2 separate regions of the Homo sapiens genome follow, and region 2 is linked to region 1. The links are contacts of gene promoters, found by promoter capture Hi-C in blood cells and fetal thymus (Javierre and others, 2016). All regions are on one chromosome and are shown on one strand. Each heading gives the region's core, a stretch centred on a gene start or on the middle of the fragment in contact. The rest is flanking DNA. Distances are from core to core; before and after follow the strand shown. Region 1 holds the start of GPR173 (G protein-coupled receptor 173). Region 2 has its middle 56 kb from the start of XAGE1B.

The links. The method cuts DNA at HindIII sites, captures the fragments that hold promoters and counts their contacts. A CHiCAGO score of 5 or more calls a contact.
Region 2: a fragment that was not itself captured here is called in contact with the fragment with the promoter of GPR173 in region 1 in 1 of 17 cell types (M2 macrophages); the score reaches 5.2 in M2 macrophages.

Annotation. Positions count from the first base shown.
Region 1 is chrX:53,046,931-53,050,672 of GRCh38, forward strand. GPR173 (G protein-coupled receptor 173) reads left to right here and starts at 1,859. Exons shown (of 2, transcript NM_018969.6): 1 at 1,859-2,554. The HindIII fragment of the contact is 17,268 bases long and covers 1,169-3,742 here.
Region 2 is chrX:52,571,174-52,574,915 of GRCh38, forward strand. No RefSeq gene overlaps it. Among named protein-coding and RNA genes, the nearest start is that of XAGE1B, 56 kb to the left of the region's middle. The HindIII fragment of the contact is 3,334 bases long and covers 1-3,266 here.

The sequences.
Region 1 (3,742 bases), core at 609-3,108:
GAGACAGGGTTTTGTCATGTTGGCCAGGCTTTTCTCAAACTCCTGAGCTCAAGCAATCTGCCTGCCTTGGCCTCACAAAGTTCTGGCATTACAGGCGTGAGCCCGTGCCCAGCCCGTTTTGCCTTTTTTTGTTTGTTTTTCGAGACAGAGTCTTGCTCTGTTGCCCAGGCTGGAGTGCAGTGGTGAGAACACAGCTCACTGCAGCATCCTGGGCTCAAGTGATCCTCCCACCTCAGCCTCCCAAGTAACTGGGACTACAGGCGCACACCACCATGTCCAGATAAGGTTTAAATTTTTTATAAAGACGGGGTCTCAATATGTTGTCCCGGGTGGTCTCAAACTCCTGAACTCAAGCAATCCTCCTGCCTTGGCCTCCGAAAGTGCTGGGATTACAGGTATGATCCACTACACCCGGCCTCCAAAACATTTTCTAATTTTCCATGGATTTTTCTCCCTCCCCAAAGCATGTGGGCATAAAAATGACCACCGGAGGGCCTTGTCAAAAGGCAGGTTTTGAAGCCCCATCTGAAAACCTCCTAGATTAGTATTTCTGGGAGGTAGGCTTGGGTATCTACACTTTACAAGTTCTCCAGGGGATTCAGATGCAAGTGGGTTCCAGGTCCACAGTCTGGTAGCAGAGCCTGCATTTCCTAAGGGCAGAGAGCATAGGTCTGAGTCACCCGGTACTGTTAGTGCCCAGCACTGGGCCTAACATAAAACCATTTGTCATAAATGAAGGAACCAATGGATGAAGGAAGAAAGGAAATAAAACACAATTTCTTATATCAAGATAATTTGAATTCTTGAATGCTGTAACTTAGGGGAACCACTGAAGCATCATTTGGTCCCAATTTAATCATATTTGAAACAAATATTTTTTTCCTTGTCTTCATATCTCTGCCTACCAAGCGTTCTCCTCACCTCTCCTATTCTGTTGTCCTGGGACATGGCTTTAAGTATGGGTTCTGCCTGTCTGCTGGCCCCGAGAAAGTGGGGATGGCACAGGAGATATCCTGAGAGGGGCTGTTCAGAGTTGGGCAGCGCTCCTTTCCCACCCCAACCCCCCAGCCAACCTCCAGGCCTTGCAGGGAAAATGCCCATAGAACCCCATTCTAAATCAGTTTATGAATCCCACCTCTCCGGGCCCTAAGCATGCCTCCCAGCCCAAAGCTTTTGAGAAACTTTCGCCGGACCTTTGTCCCGACCCAGATCCTAGCGTCCTCTATGCCCTGCCTCCTCTGCACTTGTAGCCCATGTGAGTTGCTCTCTCAGCAGCCTCTTGGCCATCTCTCCCCACCTCCACTCATGCCTCTCTCGAGCATCTCAGAAAGGCCCGAGCCTGACTTCCCCAGCCAGCTATTGTCCTGGCAGCACAGCCGCCACGCCAGCGTCCCCACCCAGTCAGCCAGCCGGCTGCTCCCTGGCCTCGCCAGCACCCCCCGCCCCCCCCCCCGCTCCCCGCCCCGCCCCAGGGAGGACCAGGCTGGCAGCTGGGAGTCTCCCTGCCTGCTCAGCCTTCCTCCTTCCCTCCCTCTCCCTCCCTGCCTCCCTCCTCCTCCGCCCGCCCCTGAGGCAGGGACCGTGCAAATCGAGGAGAGGGGGGACGGACAGGCCTGATGGGGTCCAGCTTAGGGCCCCGGACTCCCCACTGATGCTCTATCCAGGCTGGGTGTCCCCAGCATCGTGGGACCTGGATTTGTGTGCACCGGGGTGGTTCCCAGGCCAGGAGGGTCCCTCTGGCAGGCCCTTGGTGCCCTCGTTTTGCATGAGGACCCCCCTCGGATGCTCTGAGCCACCCTCCTCAACCCGGATCTAAAACCCGGGACACGGCTATCAGGCCAGCCTCTCTCTCCACCCCACCCCCTCTTTCTGGCGTCCATCCCCTCCCCAACACCACCTCTGCTGCTGCCTCTGGCTGTGGACCTGCACCTCTTCCCCATCCCCGCCAGGCCCGGGGAGCGGGGTGAGCCTGGATGAGAGCCCCCCCAACCTGGGGCTCTCCCAGGCCATGGCCCGTGTGCTCCCAGGGAGGAGCCCCGGACCCTGAGCATCTGCTGGAGGCTTGGCAGAGGCCCCGCGGGGACCGTGTCTTCTGAGGACAAAAGGCGGCGGCCAGCAGGCAGACGGAGGGGGGGGGTGGGGGGTGGGGGGGGTAGGGGGACCGGCAGCCAGGCAGGCAGACGGGTAGCAGGGGCCAGCACTGGCCCCCCTCCCAGCTTGGCAGTGGCATGAAGATGGGAGTGGGAGTGTATAGTGGAGGAAGCACCTGCCGGGACCCCCACCTGCCAGCTAGTTGGACACCCCAAGGCTGTGTGCTGCCCACCTGGTGTTCCCCAACACCCCCAGCCCTACCCAGTGCACCCCTCCGGTGCCTGCTTTCCCTGATGCCTGCGATTTAGACCAGCCCGGCTGTATCCACGGCAACAGAAGCAGGAGTGTCACTGGCCGCCAGATCACTGAGGGTCCCACAATGTGGCCCGGGCTGTGATTTACCTGGGTGAGACAGCTTGAGCCCCATCGTGGATTCCAAGACATCCCTGCTGAGAGAGCCAAGGTAAGCAGTCAGCATCCCTCCACCAAGGATGGGGGGCTGGGACTTCTGTTCTGTCTCCCCACACATACTTCAGAGTCTCCATCACTGCCATGCTCTCTGTCTCTGTCTGACTCTGTTAGTCTCTTTCTGCTCCATCAAGGGGCTCCTTGGTACCCAAGCCTGGGGACTCCTCATCTTCCCCCCATCTTCCCCAATCCCAAATGTCCCATGAGAAAGGGAACCACCACCTGTTTCCCCTCACAGGGTCTGTTTTTATCATCATGGTTGCGTTTGGGCATGAGGCTGTGTTAATCTTTCCTTGTGTGCTGGCTGTGGAAGGGATGCCTGGGAGCCCGGCGGCCGTGTTCCCTTCACAATGCCTGCACCCTGGGCAGGCTCAGCCTCTTGCGGCTGCTCCTCTCCCTCTCCCTCCTCCTCCACTCTCCTCCAGGATCCCTGGCCTGCTGGCCGGGTGTGTGTGTGTGTGTGTGTGTGTGTGTGTGTGTGTGTGTGCACCTGGGTAGCAAGCAGGTGGGTAGACATGACAGAGAAGCTGCTCCCAGCCCAGACCATCCCCCACTCCTTCTTTCCTCCTTTCCTTCCTTCCTTCCTTCCACCCTCCCCACCTCCCCATCTCTCCCTACAGGTAGCAGAGTTTTGCTCACTCACCACTGAAGATGTTGCCGATTCCCAGCTAGGGGGAGGAAGTCACTGTAGGGCTAAAGGACAGTGAAGTGGTGGTGGGGAGCACTTCCAGGCCCTAGGCTGCCTGATGGTTCTGTGGGGGCAAAGACCAATCCCATGACAACCTGCAGGGGCCAGGAACAACATGGTTGTCCCTACAGTGTGGGACCCAGCCTCCACCACAAGGCTCTCTGTCTCTGTTTCAGATGTCCATGTTGTGTCTGAGACCCCCCGGATCTTGTGGCCTTGTGCCCAGTAGCCGGAGGTCCATATATCTGGAAGGGCAGGAAAGCCTGGTACATGGAGAACATGGATCCTCCCAGGGACACTTCCCCCAACTACTAGCTCTGCAACTTTAGTGGAAGCATGCCACTTACCGAACCTCAGTTTTCCCATCTGTCAAAGAGACTGGTAACCCTTCCCTGATGGGTGTGTGTAGGGATTGAATGAGTTGGTGCATGTAAGTAAGAGATGTGCATCGAGGTGGCACTGAAGCAATGTCAGCAAAGCTCACAGTCAATATTG
Region 2 (3,742 bases), core at 350-2,849, 480 kb before region 1:
GCACCTTGGTCTTTCTGCAAGATCAGTCCAGCTGGATTATCTGGATCTTGCTTACTTGTCCACCAGTCTGGAGCTGGGGCTGCAGGTTTCAGCAGGCTATGATGAACCCAAGGTGTGATACCTGCAACTTTAACAGTGGTAGGGGTAGACATGATTGTTGTGGGAAGTCAGGAACCCCGAATGGAGGGACTGGCTGAAGCCATGGCAGAAGAACATGGATTGTGAAGATTTCATGGACATTTATTAGTTCCCCAAATTAATACTTTTATAATTTCTTACGCCTGTCTTTACTGCAATCTCTGAACATAAATTGCTAAGATTTCATGGACACTTATCACTTCCCCAATCAATACCCTTGTGATTTCCTATGCCTATCTTTACTTTAGTCTCTTAATCCCATCATCTTCGTAAACTGAGGAGGATGTATGTCACCTCAGGACCCTGTGATGATTGCTTTAACTGCACAAATTGTTTGTAGAGCATGTGTGTTTAAACAATATAAAATCTGGGCACCTTGAAAAAAGAACAGGATAACAGCAATGTTCAGGGAACAAGAGAGATAACCTTAAACTCTGACTGCCGGTGAGCCGGGCAGAACAGAGCCATATTTCTCTTCTTTCAAAAGCAAATGGGAGAAATATCACTGAATTCTTTTTCTCAGCAAGGAACATCCCTGAGAAAGAGAACGCATCCCTGAGGGTAGGCCTCTAAAATGGCCGCTTCAGGGGGCGGCCATCTTTTATGGTCGAAGCTGTAGGGATGAAATAAGCCCCAGTCTCCTGTAGCGCTCCCAGGCTTATTAGGACGAGGAAATTCCCACCTAATAAATTTTGGTCAGACCGGTTGTCTGCTCTCAAACCCTGGCTCCTGATAAGATGTTATCAATGACAACGCGTGCCCAAAACTTCATTAGCAATTTTAATTTCGCCCTGGTCCTGTGGTCCTGTGACCTCGCCTTGTACACTCCCTCCCCTTTTGAAAATCACTAATAAAAACTTGCTGGTTTTACGGCTCAGGGGGCATCATGGAACCGGCTGACATGTGATGTGTCCCCCGGACACCCAGCTTTAAAATTTCTCTCTTTTGTACTCTGTCCCTTTATTTCTCTCTTTTGTACTCTGTCCCTTTATTTCTCAGACCGGCTGACACTTAGGGAAAATAGAAAAGAAACTACGTGAAATATTGGGGGTGAATTTCGCCTGATATCTGGCTGAATTTCCCCCGATACATGATCACAACATGGGGGCCATCCCATAAAGGCCTGAGGGTGATGGGGTTCCAACGTTTAACCCATACAGAGTCTCTGGGTTGAAAGGGTTGTACTGCATCTGTAAGACTAACAGGTATTCTCTGTCTTACCCACCCTTGTACTTCTTGCATTACTTCACCTAATGCCTGCATTTGTCTCCTTAGAGTTAGTTCTCCTATTTCTTTTAAATCTCCTCTTATTTGAGCTATGAGTTGGGGTGGTCGGCCATACACTATCTCATAGGGTGAATACCCAGTTAATTTAGTGGGGGTACACCTGACTCAGAGAAGGACCATTGGCAACACCTGATCCCACCTTAAATGAGTTTCCTGGCAAAACTTCTTCCACAGTTGTTTCAGTGTTTGGTTCATCCTTTCAACTTTTCTGGAACTCTGTGGATGATAGGCAGTACGCAGCTTCCGTTTAACATTTGGGTTAACTGCTGCACTACTTCTGCCACAAAGGCTGGTCTGTTATCTGAGCCTAAAGTTAGTGGCAGTCTAAATCTAGGAATAATGTCTTTTAGTAGTATCCTGGTTACTTCTCGAGCCTTCTCTGTTCTGGTGGGAAATGCTTCAACCCACCTTCAAAAGGTGCAGACTAACACTAACATGTACTGATAGTCTCCAGCCCAAGGCAGCTGGGTAAATTCTACAAGCAGGTTTTCACATGGCAACTGCTCCTGTTTCTTGAATTCCTGGGGGCCGAGTGGGCCCTTGTCTGGGGTTATTTTGAGCACATATGACACATTGCTCGCAGATGGCTCCTGTGACGGCAGTCAGGTGTGGTACAAAGAAGTATCACCCTACAAGAGTTTCTAAGGCTGTCTTCCTTATCTGTGTTCCTTGGTGAAGTTGCTTTATAAGTCGAGGGGCGACGGCTTCTGGGATGGCAAGCCTCCCGTCTGAAAACTTCCACCAGCCTCCTTTCTTTGATAATCCCCGTTTTCCTGTGCGAACCATGCCTTTTCACTGGAGGTGTAGTTAGGAGTTTCTGCAAGGGGAGGTTCTAATAAGGGCATGACATAAGTCTCTCTTTTTTCTGTCATTTTTGTTATTGCAGCCCTTTTTGCTTCCCTGTCTACTTTCCTGTTTCCTGTAGCCTCATTACTTCCTCCTGTTTGATGTCCATTACAATGAATTAATGCTACTTTCTTTGGAGTCCATACTGCCTCTAGGAGCTGCTCTATTTCTTTTTTGTTCTTTATTTCTTTCCCTTCAGTAGTTAACAGTCCTTTCTCCTTGTAGATGGCTCCATGAGCATGCAAGGTAGCAAAGGCATATTTTGAGTCAGTATAGATATTCACTGACTTTCCTTTTGCTAGAAGTAGCGCTCTTATGAGAGCTATTAGTTCTGCCTTCTGTGCAGAGGTTCCTACTGGTAAAGGGCAGGCCTCAGCGACTGAGTTCAGTGTGGCTACTGCATATCCAGCCTTTCTGATACCTTCGGATATGAAGCTACTTCCATCAGTAAAATACTCTATGTCTGGGTCCTTTAGGGGCTGGTCTTTTAGGTCTTTCCGGCTTGAAAAGACTTCATCTACTGTTTCTACACAGCAATGATACCCTGGGGCACATAACGGGGGCTTCCCATGCTCTGCATATTCTATTGGCAGAAGTGTAGCCAGATTTAGGGTGTTTACAGTCTCTAAGGTGATGTATGGATTTTCACACAGGAGCCATTGGTATCTCAGCATTCTAGGGTTAGAGAGCCAACGATGTCCTCCTCTCTGTTCCATCAGGGTGACAACTGTATGGGGCACCTGAATTATCAACTTCTGTCCAAAAGTGAGCTTGTTAGCATCCTCAGCTAACAGAGCAGTGACAGCCAGCACCTTGAAACGGGGCGGCCATCCTGTGGCCACCCAGTCCAGTTGCTTGGACAGATATGCTACAGGTAGATACCATGACCCTAACATTTGCACCAAGACTCCTGTGGCCATCTCCTTTCTTTCATGAACATACAGATAAAAGGGCTTTGTCAAGTCTGGCAACCCGAGTGCCAGAGCTTGAATTAAAGCTTTCTTGATTTCCTTGAAGGCCATGTCCTGTTCTTTTCCCCAAAGGAGGGGCTCCTTTATCCCCACTTTGGTAGCCTCATATAAAGGTTTTGCTAAGAGCAAGTAGTTGGGGATCCATATACGGCAGAAACCAGCCACCCCAAGGAACTCCCGTACATGCCAGTGTCGTGTCTGGCCAAGGAATGCTACACACAGTCTCTTTTCGCTCTCGCACAAGCTCACGCCGCCCTTGGGGAATAGGAAAACCAAGGTACTGAACTCCTTGGCCACAGATATGTGCCTTTTTCTTAGACACTTTATAGCCAGCCTCCCACAACACTCAAAGGAGATTCTCTGTCCCTTCGATACATTCCTTTCTAGTGGGTGCGGCCAACAATAAATAGTCAATATATTGCAGTAAGATACACCGGTCACTAGGTGGCGTGAAAGCCTTCAAGTCTGAGACAAGCCCTTCCTCAAAGATAGGGGAGTTC